Regions from separate parts of the Homo sapiens genome. Here regions 2 and 3 are each linked to region 1. Evidence: promoter capture Hi-C in 16 types of primary human blood cells and fetal thymus (Javierre and others, 2016). All regions are on one chromosome and are shown on one strand. Each heading gives the region's core, a stretch centred on a gene start or on the middle of the fragment in contact. The rest is flanking DNA. Distances are from core to core; before and after follow the strand shown.

The links. The method cuts DNA at HindIII sites, captures the fragments that hold promoters and counts their contacts. A CHiCAGO score of 5 or more calls a contact.
Region 2: the fragment with the promoter of ILKAP here is called in contact with the fragment with the promoter of NDUFA10 in region 1 in 1 of 17 cell types (total B cells); the score reaches 7.5 in total B cells.
Region 3: a contact is called between the fragment with the promoter of ASB1 here and the fragment with the promoter of NDUFA10 in region 1, in 8 of 17 cell types (fetal thymus, total B cells, naive B cells and 5 more). The highest score is 17.2, in fetal thymus.

What each region holds. Positions count from the first base shown.
Region 1 is chr2:240,022,796-240,027,542 of GRCh38, reverse strand. It overlaps NDUFA10 (NADH:ubiquinone oxidoreductase subunit A10), which reads left to right and starts at 2,201. Exons shown (of 10, transcript NM_004544.4): 1 at 2,201-2,316. The coding sequence starts at 2,242. RefSeq lists an enhancer at 1,377-2,206 and a silencer at 2,015-2,274. The HindIII fragment of the contact is 3,872 bases long and covers 920-4,747 here.
Region 2 is chr2:238,201,159-238,205,905 of GRCh38, reverse strand. ILKAP (ILK associated serine/threonine phosphatase) reads left to right here and starts at 2,211. Exons shown (of 12, transcript NM_030768.3): 1 at 2,211-2,407. The coding sequence starts at 2,353. RefSeq lists enhancers at 1,330-2,202, 3,165-3,224 and silencers at 2,015-2,584, 2,705-2,794. The HindIII fragment of the contact is 5,343 bases long and covers 1,343-4,747 here.
Region 3 is chr2:238,424,189-238,428,935 of GRCh38, reverse strand. ASB1 (ankyrin repeat and SOCS box containing 1) reads right to left here and starts at 2,009. Exons shown (of 5, transcript NM_001040445.3): 1 at 1,817-2,009. The coding sequence starts at 1,865. It overlaps LOC124908002 (a long non-coding RNA gene), which reads left to right and starts at 2,042. Exons shown (of 2, transcript XR_007088163.1): 1 at 2,042-4,747. RefSeq lists enhancers at 1,261-1,380, 2,893-3,428 and silencers at 1,631-2,150, 2,171-2,560. The HindIII fragment of the contact is 6,850 bases long and covers 251-4,747 here.

The DNA of each region.
Region 1 (4,747 bases), core at 952-3,451:
ATATAGTGTGGACGTCAAAGCGACCTCCTAGAGAACATTCCTAGCTCTCAGAACGTTCTAGCTGGGGAGGGAAAACGGAAAAAGGGGGGCGAGAAGCGGAGGGACGGGGAAGTATATAGTAATACTTCCCTTGAACCAGTAAAACTGTAATGCCCAACCTGGTTTTTACTAACTGTTTTCAGACTCTCCCTTTTCCTTTAATCACCTAGCCCTGTTTCCACCTGAATTGACTCTCCCTTAGCTAAGAGAGCCAGACAGACTCCATCTTGGCTCTTTCACTGGCAGCCCCTTTCTCAAGGACTTAACTTGTGCAGGCTGACTCCCACCACATCCAAGAATGCAATTAACTGGTAAGATACTGTGGCAAGCTACATCCGCAGTTCCCAGGAATTTGTCCGATTGATAACGCCCAAAGCCCCGGGTCTATCATCTTGTAATAGTCTTAAAGCCCCTGCACCTTGAACTGTTTACTTTCCTGTAACCATTTACCCTTTTAACTTTTTGACTACTTTACTTCTGTAAAATTGTTTTAACTAGACCCCCCCCCCTTCCTAAACCAAGGTATAAAAGTTAATCAAGCCCCTTCCTCGGGGCTGAGAGAATTTTGAGCGTTAGCCGTCTCTCGGTCGCCAGCTAATAAAGGACTCTTAATTCGTCTCAAAGGTGGTGTTTTTCTAACTCGCTCAGGTACAACAAAACATCCACGCAAACAGGTTGTGAGAAGTTACGTCTGCGTGCTGTGATACCTAGAGGAACCACTACGAAAACTATACATAATGATATTTCCCAAGACATTATCAGTAAATCAAGATGGAATTCTAAAAAAATGTACTGTATCCATTGGAAGGCACAAAAAAAAAAAAAAAAAAAAAATGCAAAGGAAACAAGGCAAAAAACAGCAGACATGAACCCTAAAGCTTGTTAAATGGATTTCAGGTGCCCTCCAGGATCTAAAAACCAGACCCTCCTGCGTTGGGGACCGGGAATCCGTATTTTTGACAAAAAGCAATTCTTCAATTATAGAAACATCCATAGAACCGGCCGTAGTTTACACAGCTGCATTCCCACTGTTTTACAATCGCATGATCATTTCTGAAAAGTTGAAAACAAAGTTAAAGAATATTTAAGGGGTTAAGAACAAAAAGCCTGGGGAACACAAAAGATTATAAAAACCCTTCCCAACAGCAGGCATACTTGGAAGGAAACCTCACATGCAAGGCTCCTTCGTGGAGCCCAGAGCCCAGGTCCTGACGGGAGCACATTTTAAGAGATGGACTTGCCGGCGCGGTGGCTCACGCCTGTAATCCTAGCACTTTGGGAGGCCGAGGCGGGTGGATCACGAGGTCAGGAGATCGAGACCATCCTGGCTAACATGGTGAAACCCCGTCTCTACTAAAAATACAAAAAATTAGCCGGGTGTGGCGGCGGGCGCCTGTAGTCCCAGCTACTCGGGAGGCTGAGGCAGGAGAATGGCGTGAACCAGGGAGGCGGAGCTTGCAGTGAGCGCGATGGCGCCACCGCACTCCAGCCTGGGCGACAGAGCGGGACTCTGCCTCAAAAAAAAAAAAAAAAAAAAAAAAAAAAAAAAAAAAAAAAAGAGATGGACTTGGAGCGTGTGCTTTTGTTTTCTATGCTATTCAATGTGTTCACAGCAGGTCCCCTGGATGAGACCACTTAGCCTTCAGCTCCGGAGGCGACCCAGGCCGGCCTTGCCAGGTCCCTCTCCCTGACAGGCGCCCCGCGACAGGGGTCCCACCCCGTCCCTCCGCTCCTCGCCCCCTCTTTTTCCACTTTCCCTCCCCAGCGAGAACGTTCTGAGAGCTAGGAATGTTCTCTAGGAGGTCGCTTTGACGTCCACACCGCGCCTGGGGGATTCTGCGGGGAGCACAGGACCCTGGGACGAGACGCAGAAGTCGCTCCACGCCCTGGGCGGCCTCAGCTCCCGCGACACCGCAGCAACTCAGAACCCAGGCAGGGGCCGGGCAGCCAGCATGCTGCCCCCACGTTCACCTCCAACTCCCACCTCTCGGCCCTCGCCCCAACCCGCAGGACCCTGGCAGCGCACTGGCTGTCTCCGCGGAAGCCCCCGAGGGCCTCGGCGCGGCCCCGCCCCCTGGAAGGTTCCCGACAGGCGCCGCGGGCACCCCGGCCGTGACGTCACGGCAGCGCGCCGGCCGCGAGAGAGGGCCCCGTCGCGACCGCGTCCCCTTGGGTCCTTGATCCTGAGCTGACCGGGTAGCCATGGCCTTGCGGCTCCTGAAGCTGGCAGCGACGTCCGCGTCCGCCCGGGTCGTGGCGGCGGGCGCCCAGCGCGTGGTGAGCGGGCGGCGGGGTGGCAGGGTGGCGGGGTGGCAGGGTGGCGGGGTGGCGGGGTGGGGAGCAGTTCCACATCTCCCCCGGCCTCTGGCGGCGGCTCCCAGGTCGCTCTCCGGGTGGGTTTGGGGGACCCCTCCTGCCTCCGGAATTGTTTGGTCTTTGGTCGTGGACAGACCTCAGGGGGCCACGAGCTTCTCCAGGCCATTTTATCTCAGCTTTAAGCAAAACGCTGGAGCGCGGAGGTGATCAGGGCCCCGAGGCTGCCCTGATGCGGGAGGCCCGTGTGCAGGTGGCAGGCCGGGGGCACACGCGCTTGTCATTAGATAATTCACGTAGCAGCCCTGTCAAGAGCCGTTTAAAGGTCGGGCCCTGCTGGGTGCTTGGGTGATGCCATGTTGAGCAGACACGGAGTTCAGTGCTTGTGTCCGCTTCCTTTTGCCTTTACTCTGACTGACTACTCTCATTTCTTAGCATTTTGCCCCCACCTTCTTCAGTGAAATCGTTTCATACATTTGTAACACAGTTGGATTGCTTTGTCACATTCTGCCTTACATCTTGGGATCCTTCTACCTAATGCGTTTTTTAAAATGTGCATACATTGAGCGCATTCTTTGTGCTATAAGGTTCTATGGATTTTTTCTTTGTGCTATAAGGTTCTATAGGTTTTGACACGTGTGTAATAGCATGTCTCCACCATTATAGGTTCGTACAGAGTAGCTTCACTGCCTTAAAAAATTCCCCTCTGCTTTACCTATTAAACCCTTCTTTTTCTCCAACCCCTGACAACCACAGATCTCATTAACATTTCCATAGTTGCCTTTTCTGGAATGTCATATAATTAGAATCATACAATATATTGCCTTTTCAGACGCCTTGAATACTTGGAAATATCTATGTAAGATTCACTTATGTCTTCGTGGCTTGGTAACTCATTTCTTTTTAATCACTGAGTAATATCTCATTGCATGGATGTACTTCAATTCATTCAGCAATTGAAGGGCATCTTGGTTGCTTCAAGTTTTTGGCAATTATGAATAAAGCTGCTGTAATCGTGTACATGCAGATTTCTTTTTGGAAATACATTTTTATATCATTTGGGTAATACCTGGAAGAGCGATTACTCATGTAGTAAGACTAGTTTTCTAAGAAGCTGCCAAGCCATCTTCCAGAGTGACTGTGCCATTTGACTCCCACCAGAAGTGAAGGCTCTCCTTGTTGCTCTGCGTGCTCGCCAGCATGCGGGGCTGTCGGTTACTTTGGATTGCTATCCATTCTGATAGCTGCGTAGTGGTATCTTGTTTCAACTTTGGAATATCTCATGATATACAGTGTTCATCTTTTCATATACTTATTTGCTATCTGCGTTAATTTCATTTGCGAGAGGTGTTTACATCTTTTGCCCATTTTTAAATTGGGTTGTCTGCTTTGCCTTGTTTTGTAACTTGTTTCTTCCTTACTCTTCAGTTATCAAATCAAGATCGAAAAATATCTTGATATTTCATATTCTCCTGTTTTATTTAAATTTCACTATAAAGTATTTTAATATTTTTGTGTTTTTCTGAGTACTTAGTATTCCATAATATGGATATGCCTTAATTTTGTTTAACTATTCCTCCGTTGTTGGACATTTAAGGGTTTCTATTTGCATTTTTGGTGTTACATCATACTTCATTGAGCATCCTTATAGGTCAATCTTATGTATATACTCTTTGAATGGATTCCTAATGCTGTAGACCCAGCGTCCTCTAGGTTTCATTACCATTAGCAGTTTAGGATGGTACTCATTGTCTTGTCCTAACTCTGTAATCATTTTTTAAATTATTTCTCATTTTGACACATGAAAAACTAATGTTTCCTTGTTAATAGTCTTTTGTTTTTTTGTAGCAAGGTTGACCACTTTTTCATGTGGTTTTTGGCTATATTTTATAATTTTAAAATAAGCTGTGTGTTTTTATTCTTTGTTTTCTTATTGTTCTGTACAATTTCTGTATATAGTAAGGTTATTACCCCATCATATCTGTTGAACTTCTTCAGTTTGTTTTACTTTTGGTTATGTTTCTTTTCTTTTTTTGGAAGGAATGTTCCCACTTTAGTGTGGAGAGTAAATTGGGCTGCTGGAGACAGGCATTGAAGCAGGTCTTTGCCTTGTAGATGAGAGGTGTGAGGGTGCCGACAGAGTCAGCACATGGCATAGGGAGGCGATGCAGTGTCCAGAGAGTCTGAACAGTTAGGATTTTGTGTGTAATTCTGCAGTTGAAGGAAGGAGAAAGGTATCAAAGACGACACTCAAATTTGCTCTCTTTTGCTTGTTAGGTAGTGGATATTCCTTGCTGTGAGGGAAAGCAGACTTGGGGGCTAGGATATGGATGTTGCATTTCACCTTAGCTCTGTTACCTTCAGGTGCCTTCAGGACATCTAGGTGGAGCTGTTT
Region 2 (4,747 bases), core at 962-3,461, 1.8 Mb after region 1:
ATCCCATTCCTGGGCTCTCTCCTAAAAATATGCCTAGGAATAATGTTCTTACCCTGCTTAATTAACCTTTTTCTAAGTTTTTTTTATTTTTTTGAGACGGAGTCTTGCTCAGTCGCCCAGGCTGGAGTGCAGTGGCGAGATCTCGGCTCACTGCAAGCTCCGCCTCCTGGGTTCACACCATTCTCCTGCCTCAGCCTCCCAAGTAGCTGGGACTACAGGCACCCGCCACCATGCCTGGCTATTTTTTTTTTTTTTTTGTATTTTTAGTAGAGACGGGGTTTCACCATGTTAGCCAGGATGGTCTCGATCTCCTGACCTCGTGACCCACCCGCCTTGGCCTCCCAAAGTGCTGGGATTACACGCGTGAGCCACCGCGCCTGGCCACCTTTTTCAAAGATTTTTAACCAGCAGGATCATGGCCATCTCACAGACAATTACCCAAAAACATCTACAGACAGCGTTACTCCTACAATCAATCTGAAACCAAAGAACTCTCTGCTCACTCCCCCAGCAGGAAGTAGCCAGAAAAAATGCGCTGCCCCTTGTCCTTTTCATAACTATAGAGACTGGATTGATAGAGCAGGAGCATTGCCATCTTGGACAAACACCACCTTTCTAAGTTCCCCTTGATTAAAAAACCACCTAAATCCTACCCCAAAACATCAGCCTAACGGCTAATGTCAGCATAACCAGAAATATTCCAACCCTAAGATAAACCTCTCTTCAACCAGAAACATGCTAACCCTGAAATAACCTCTCCTCCAATAGCCTCCCCTCCGACCAGAGACATTCCAACCCTGCAATAAACGTTCCCCCACTTCCAAAACCCTTAAATATCCTTAGTCTGTAAGAGAGAATGCTTAGTCTGTAAGAGAGAGCGCTCCTGATCGAAATTGGCCAGAATCCCCTCTCAGGTTTATTCTCTGAAATAAACCTTTTAATGTTGAGCCGCTTTTTGTATTTATTTCCTCTTTCTTTAACGGTTACAAGCATTGTTACTTGAGTGTTTCTGCTGTAATGGAGGAGGCAGCATGAATATCTCAAACGGTTGCTAGTGAGAAGCCACGCAGATGAGAGGCATGAAGCCTTGTTGGGCTCCCTCCATGTCCTACAGCCAGAGAGCGTCAGAAATACATCTGCCCCAGAATGAACTGGGCTGAAAACTCTTTGCATGGAGGGAGACCACATAACCTGGGGAACTTGGGTAAACGATGTTGGAACGGAGGTGTAAGATTTGGGTTTGTGTTAGTTGATTTGGGGAAACATTTATGGAAACGGGCCTTTGCTCCGGATTGGATGTCAGGAAGAGGAGGATTCCATGATTGGATATCTTGATGAAGCTTATCTAGACGGCAGGAGGACGAGACAAAGGCTAAACATGTAATGGTAAAGAAGCAGCAATCACTCTTATTGGCCAAGACGAGGGGAATGTGGTCACTTTTGTGGCTTGGACAGTGTTCCTGTTTTGTCTGTGTTCACACTTGATTACACAGTGGTCTGTTTTTTTCTCTTGATCTGTATCACGGCCTGATGTTGGTGTTTTATGAAATTGTTCACATTCAAAGAGAACACCCAGGCCTAGCTGTTTGTGCCAGACCAACCCCAAGTCCTGGCTGCAGAACCAGGCCAGCTCCCCGATGTCAGTGGCCGCCTTTCTCTTTACAGGCATGGAGGGGGACACCATTAAGGAGGAGCCCCTCTTCTCCGCTCCCCACAGACACCAGTGGGTGCAGACAAGTCAGGGAATGCCTCCTTTCCCTCCGGCATCTTTTGAGGTTTCCGTCCTGACGCCCAGGGCCGCTCCATCCAAGCCTCGGTTTCTCAGTCTCTAAAACAGGCCAGAAACCAGGCACGCCGTGGTGAAAGGACGAGCCGAAGAGATGGCAAGAGCTCCAGAAAGCCTTCCCAGGCATCAGGGGCTGCCCTTGAGCTCAGACGTTTCTCTCTGGACAGGGCTTCTTGGACAGGAACTCAACGAAACTTGACAGAAATCGGACACCCCCAGCCAAGGAAAAGCAGGAGGGGCCCGGGGTTCGCCAAGGCGGGAAACACCGCGGGGCCCAGACGGCGCCGTCCGCCCGGCTCGCAGTCGGGGCGCGGGAGGGGCCCACGCGCATGCGCACCGCCCCGCCCCCAGCCGCCCCGCCCAGCCCGCGCGCAGCCCTCTGGGGCGGCCGGGCCACGCCGCGCGCCGATTGGTGGCGTCCGGGACTCTCCCTGCAGGTGACTGACGGCGCCGGCCGCCCCTGCCCGTCGCCCGCCCGCTGCTGCCGCCCGCCCGGGGTGTGGAGCCCGGCCGCTGCTCGCGGGCTGAGTGTCTGTCGCTGCTGCCGCCTCCACCCAGCCTCCGCCATGGACCTCTTCGGGGACCTGCCGGAGCCCGAGCGCTCGCCGCGCCCGGCTGCCGGTAAGCGGCGTTGCCGCCGGGCCGGCCAGGGAAGGGAGAGCAGGCGGGATGGGGGCGGCCTGAGGCCCGGGGCGGCTGAGGCGGCGCCCGCGCTGGGAGGCGGCGGGCGGCGCGGGCTGCACGGGGCCTGCTCCTGCCTGGCCAGGCCCCGTCCGGCCCACTGGCGGCCCTGTCGGAGGCCCGGTCGCTCGCGGAGCTCGGAGAGGCCGCTCCGCCATTTTCGCTACGCAGGAAGGAAAGGGCCGAGCCGTCGTGGCCACGGCCCCTCTGCGTGGCGGTGAAAGGCGCCGGCGCGACCGCGTGGGCCGACCCGAGGGACCGGCTCTGAACGCCCGGCGGCACCGCGGGCCCCCGCGCCCCGATTCCACCCGCGGCCTGGGCTGCCTTGCGCGTCGCCCGCCCGCGGCTTCCGGGCCGCACTTCACCCGCGGGCTGTGGAACGGCCGCGTTCCGGGCCGGTGCAAGTTCAGGGGCTTGGCGTTTTTATTTGCACTGGAGATTGAATTAATCACCATCTTAATCCTTCGTGTTTTTGAAGCCTGGAAGACAGGATGCCTCCTCTGTCATCCTGTGATTTTGTGATAATTAACAGTAGTTTTTTTTTTTTTTTTCTGGTCCACGGGAAGTTCCCCCTCTCCTTGAAGTTAAGGGGTCCGCTCATCTCCTAAGCGCTGGCCCCTGCCAGTGGGAGTCCCTGTGGGCTGTGGTTTGAGCTCAGCATCCTAGCAGCTTGAAACAGGGCCTGTGTTAATCCCTGCGTCCTGTGGGTTACAGTCTCCGGGTTTCATCTGTCAAAACGCGTGAATATTTCATATGCAAGACTTCCAGCTTGATGTTGTAGTTTAGGGCCTTATTACAAAATTTAACTTGGGGGCAGAAAACCTGGAAAACTTAAGACGTTCAGATTTCCAGGCCCACCTCAGCCCCAGTAAATCCGAATCCCTGAGAGTGGGGTTTCCGAATCTGTTACTAAATCCCCAGGCCAACCCAGCGGGGGCTGGAGACCAGTGGTTTGGGAGCTGCTGTTGTAGGGTAGACGGAGGTGAGTAAGGCCCAGCCTTCGCTTTCTAAGAGCTGCTTTCTGAAGGGTACTAATTACGGTAATTAAAACTGGCAAAAGTTAATGACTGTGGGAAATGCTGAGGACTCTTGAGGAGGGATTGTCGGGCACCGAGAGACTGGGGAAGGAGGCAGTGTTTGAATTGAGCTTCCAAGGATGTTCAGGCTTGTGATTTGCAGTAATTCTGGGCGAGAAAACATTTTATTTTATTTTACTTTTTGAGACGGAGTCTCACTCTTGTCGCCCAGGCTGGAGTGCAATGGTGAGATCTGAGCTCACTGCAACCTCCGGGTTCAAACAATTCTCCTGCCTAGGCCTCCCTACTAGCTGAGATTACAGGCGCCGACCACCACACCCGGCTAATTTTTATATTTTTAGTAGAGACGGGGTTTCACCATGTTGGGTAGGGTGGTCTTGAACTCCTGACCTCAGGTGATCCGCCCGCCTCGGCCTCCCAAATTGCTGGGATTACAGGTGTGAGCCACCGTGCCCTGCCCCCACTGACCGTTCTGATGGTACAGAGCATCTCAGTAACTGGTCCTGGAGTCTTTGAACTTGACTCAGCCATTCATTTTCAAAATAACCACGGTTTTAGCTGTGGGTAAAAATTGGATTTGTGTAGCAGTCTTTTTTCTCTTGTCAATGGAGTATAATTTCTATCTGAATATATTTGGGACAGCATTTGGATTCACCAGTGTGCGTGTAAACCTATGAGTCTTAAAATCTCCATTGCTTTTTACCTGCAATTAATTAGGTTCTGCTCAGGAGCAGGCTCCCTTGACTGACAAAAAACCTGGCAACTCAGAATCTCATAGGTTGGCACCTTAGCAGCCTTTTGCCAGATACAGTGGGAAAGGTACATCCTGTTGCCGTTTTTTCCAAACTCAGTTTCCAACCTTGACTGAGCTGAAAGGGTGGCAGAGGGGGTGCATGGTGTTTAAACTGCTGACCACCCTGAGATTGGATTGGTCAGCTGCTCCCCATCTGCCAGGAGGGCACTGACATTGTCAACAGGTCCTGCTTGGCTGAGTGTATTTTTAAAAATAGCTTTAAAACGAAGAAGATCTCAGAATTTGTAGATGATTGGAAGCTGAGAGGGATAAGTACTAAAATGAGTGACAATTGGGATCCATAGTTATCATTGCAGGCTGTTAGCTACAACCAACAAGATGAGATTTGACAGGTTAAAATCGTTTGTACAAGAACAGAATCTGGTTTCACATACTTGTGAAAATACTGTGATTTAAAAAAAAAAAACATACTTTGAATAAATCATATTG
Region 3 (4,747 bases), core at 760-3,259, 1.6 Mb after region 1:
AAGTTCAAAGTCGGAGTGGGAAAGATTCAGGTGTAGGGCAATAACCAACAGGTAAATGGCGGCCACAGGACTTTTGCTGAGCCCTCTTCTGGGCCCCCTCTGCTGGCCTCTGTGCTATCCATTCCTGGCCCTGCTCAAAGTAGACTCAGAATCTTTCCCCAGCTCCAGATTCAAAAGCAACTTCAAGTTTGTGTTTCGCTGATCAACTACTCCAATGACAACACAACTGCCCCAGGATAGCACTTAAGCTTCAACTGAAAATCTGTTGCCCCTCTACCCGAGGCCGAAACACACTGAATAACAAAACAGCAGTGCATGAGGATATAAAAAGGAGCCCTCAGCTGAGTGTGGTGGCTGCCGCCTGTAATCCCAGCACTTTGGGAGGCAGAGGCGGGCAGATCACCTGAGGTCTAGAGTTCGCTATCAGCCTGGCCAATATGCCAATATGGTGAAGCCCCGTCTCTACTAAAATACAAAAATTAGCCGGGCATGATGCCAGCACCTGTAATCCCAGCTACTAGGGAGGCTGAGGCCAGAGCATCGCTTGAACCCCCGAGGCGGAGGCTGCAGTGGGCCGAGATCACGCCACTGCACTCCACCCTGGGCAACAAGAGCGAAACTCCGTCTCAAAAAAAAAGGAGACCTGTGCAGCCGACAAAGCCAGTGTTTATTCCCCAGGAACTCTCTTTATACTGGGAAGTAGCTGTTGGTCCTCTTTTTCCCACGGAACACGCATCATTCCGTCTCTCACTCTCACATGAGATGACATCCTAGACCCTAAGGTCCTGGCTGTCTCTGAAGTCAAAGTCAACGCCAACCAAAGCCCAGGATGGTAGATGCTTTGTCTGGCTTTTTCTGGTCACTGCAGTATCCTCTGCTGGGTCTAGCCAACAGCAGGTCTTCAATACAAGTCTGTTAAATGATTGGAAGGAGGTGCAGAGGGAGGGATGGATGGAAAAGCCTATCTGCACCAGTCTCCAAGTCAATCTTTTAAGATGTTTAAGAAATGTATTGGTTTATTACTAAGTAGGAGAGGAACCCCTCCAAAGACAAATATAGGCATGTAAAGAAAGCCCAGAACACACGAAACTATTGGCGCGAATGGCAAGCTCAGAAATCCAGCAAGAAGGAACTCCCACCACACCACCGGGAAACGGGAACCTGTCCTGACCGCTTCCTTCACATCTGCATGGTAGGGACACTGCAAGGTGGAGACCCTAAGTAGGACAGTTATTTTGGAAGGTGGGTGTGAGCCTTTCTATCTGCCTCCCTTGCTGGTGGGCCAAAGGCCCCTGGACATGTTGTGTCACTGACGAGCTCGCTGGAGACGGCGTCCCCGTTGTCCCTGGTCTGTGCCTGTGGTGGGTGGGAAGGCTGCCCCCCGCTGTACCACCGGACACGCCGTGGGCGGCAGAATGGTGAAAAAGTGCCTGCCCTCCCTAGGGCTACCCTCTGGCTGGCTTTCCTGATCCGTGCGCTCAGAGCTGGAAGGTGGCCCACGTCCTACTTTTGCGGTTGGGTCATATCAAATCTGTATCGGCTAACGGGAAGGAAGTTACGAGCAAGTTCCACCGGAAAGAAAATCTAGCGCGGGGACTGCACTCGAGGCCGAGGAGAGGGCAGCGCGTCCGTGGTGGGGTCGCCCAGCACTGCGAGCCGCGCTGAACCCCACCCCCGGCCTGCAGGGTGCGGCTCCCTGGCTGCCCCGTGGACCCGGCCAGCCCGGGACGAGGACGCAGGACCTCGGCAGGGACGCCGGAGCCAGCCCTTCGCCATCCCCACACGCCCCGCGGCCCAGTGGCCGCGCGCACGTTACCTGCGGAGCCCGGCCCTGCCCGCCCGTCTGGGCTGCCGCCCTCCGCCATGGATGCTTCCGCCTCCGCGGCCGCCCCTGACCCGCGCACGCCCCTCGGGCAGGAAGCAGAACGACCCGCGACCACTTCCGGCGCCGAGGGCAATGGGGGGCGCGTCGGGGTCGCGGCTTCCGGCGGGCGCGCGCCGGCCTCACTGGTTTCCGGGGCCGCGCAGGGGCCACGCCTCCGCTTCCGGCCTCGCTGTCTAGCAGGGCGCTGGCTGGTCCCTTCGTCCGGCGGGAACTTCGCGGCTAACCGACTCTCTGGATGCCGGCCGCGCTGTGGTTTCCTCACATAAGAAGCCAAGGAGTCGGAAAGCCCGTTGCCTGAGGCAGCAGTCTGGGAATTTCGGTCCGGCGGGCCGTCCCCACCCACACGGACGGGGCGTGGCTTCTGCCAGATGTGGGCGGGGCCCCGAGGGCCGTGGCGGGCGGGACCCGGGCCTCGGCCGGGCTGGCTTGGTCCCCGCAGGTGCCCCCCGCTAGCCACGAGCAGCCCCGGGAGGGTGGATTCGGAGGCGCGGGGACTGGTGAGGGCCCACTGCAGGGCTGAGCGTCGCAGCGTGCTGTGGTTTTAGATGAATGCTCCTCCAAATCCCTTCCATGAAGCCCTCAATCAGGTCGGTAACTGATGACAGCCAGTGGCTGACGCGAAGTTCATTGAATAAATGAATGCATTCGTGAACAACCGAGTAACATTTCTTGCACACTCCCAACTTCAAATATCGCAGCGTCGTCCCACCATGAGTATTGGTGTTGGTCCTAAAGCACGGATTCCCTTGGCTCCTCCCATTCTCCCCTGCTGAGTTAGACAGCGGGGCCTCATGCAGGAGGAGGATTTGTACACAGCACAGCAGGAGGCTGATGAGGGAGTCCGGAGACCCCAGCAGTCGTGGGCGTGAGCTGCTGGCTCATCCGTGTGTACAACATTCCAGACTGGAGTAAGGGAAGCCGCAGGCGCAGCCCCGCGAGTGCCCCTGCTGAGGCTGGCCCTGGGTGGCCCAGATGCACCAGGGGGCCCACTGGGGGCAGACCTGGCAGGCCCTGTGGGGGTTGGAGGCGGGAGTGGGGGTACTTCCTACAGTGGTGTTTGGTCTTGATGACAGCAGAGAGCACCACTGGCATGAGGGACAGGTGACTCCGATGATGACGCTGCCAGGCCAGGAGCCAGGGGTGTGCCCAGCCCCTGGCTCCACCACAGCTGCACATCCCGAACTCGGAGCTTCAGCAACTCCGAAGCCTGAAGCCGCCTCACGTGTTGTTGGATGGATGAATGGATAAACGAAATGCCGTCCATCCATACAATGGAATCGTACTCAGCCTTAGAAAGGAAATGCTGTCCGTCCATACAATGGATTCGTACTCAGCCTTAGAAAGGAAGGGAATCCTGACACACGTCACAACACGGATGACCTTGAAGACGTTATGCTGAGTGAGATAAGCCAGCCACAAAAAGACAAATACAGTACTGTGTGATTCCAATTATTTGAGGTCCCTGGAGCAGTGAAATGGTGGAGCGGAATGGGGGTTGCCAAGGGCTGGGGGAGTGGGGAATGAGGAGTTAGTTTTTCATGGGGACAGAGCTTCAGTTGAGGAAGATGAAAAAGTTTTGGAGACGGGTCACACAGCAATGTGAATTGTGCATTAACAGTACTGAACTGCGCATTTAAAGCAGGTTAAGTTTTATGTTCTATATATTTTACCACAATTGTTTTAAAGAATTTTTTAAAAGAGGTTCCGGTGCAGTCAGTCAGGGGTGCGGGTTGGGTGTTGGGTGGTTCAGAGCACCCAGGTGATTCTAAAGTGCAGCCTGGTGAGAGCCACGTCTCCGGGGGCCTCCGCTGCTCTGCCTGCCTGGTCCCGGTGGGCTCACAGTGAGCGTTCTGCGTGTCGGTAGCCTTTGCATCAAGGTATTGAGTCCCTGAGCAGAGTGGCCCTCCTGCACCTGCACCTCCACCTTCCCTGCCACGTGTTGCCCTTGGGATCCTGCCTCTTAGAAGAACCTGAGGCCGCACGTGGTCTGTAGCGGGGAGGTGGCCTCACATGCCCACCTCCGTGCCTCCTAAATGCCCACATGGTGCAGGGCAGTGTCCACAGAGCCAGCAGTGCTGGAGGGGGAAGGACACTCAATTGCTGGCCACTCTGCCAATACCATCACCCCCATTTCTCAGGACCCTGAGATCTGGGGGCCTGGTGCTATGCCCAAAACCACATAGCCCACAGGTGGCTGAGTTGGGATCACATCCAGACTGTCCAGCCCTACAGCCTGTCTCCCCCTCTGACCTCACCTCTCCAGAGTCCCTCTTCTTCCAGGTCCTCTGAGCCCAAAAGACCCACCAACACAGGGACACTCAGTGACCGCTAGAGATGAAGCAACTTGGGTCCCATCACCTACAAGCAACAGGGATTTACCAGTGCCTACCAGTGCCATCCCAGCCCAGCACAGCAGCAACAGGACCAGTGCAGTGGGCTGTCTTGCCCCTCCAGGTCCCAGTGGCTCCCTCCCGTTTTCCCACCCCTAAAATCACCCGTCGCTTCCTGTTGCCTCCTGGAGGCTCAGGCCTCCCCCAAAGTGTCCCCAGTGACCCCTCTGTGGAGCCTAGCCCAGTCTTTGTGGTGGAAAATTTGGCAGTCTAGCTAAAGCATAAGAATGAATAATCCTTGATCAGAAATGCCTCTTCCAGGCATTCATTCTAGGGAAATAATCAGATGTGGGGGAGATTCAGCTACAGTAGTGCTCATTACCATCATTTTATAACAAAAATGTCCAACAATGGACTTTCTGGTTCAGGAGGTCTGAGAAGGGGCCCCCATCCCTCATCCTTCCTGTTGCAGGGAACTGGGGGCCCCTCTGGAAGCATGGCAGGTATATGGGGGGCTGGAAACATGAGCTCC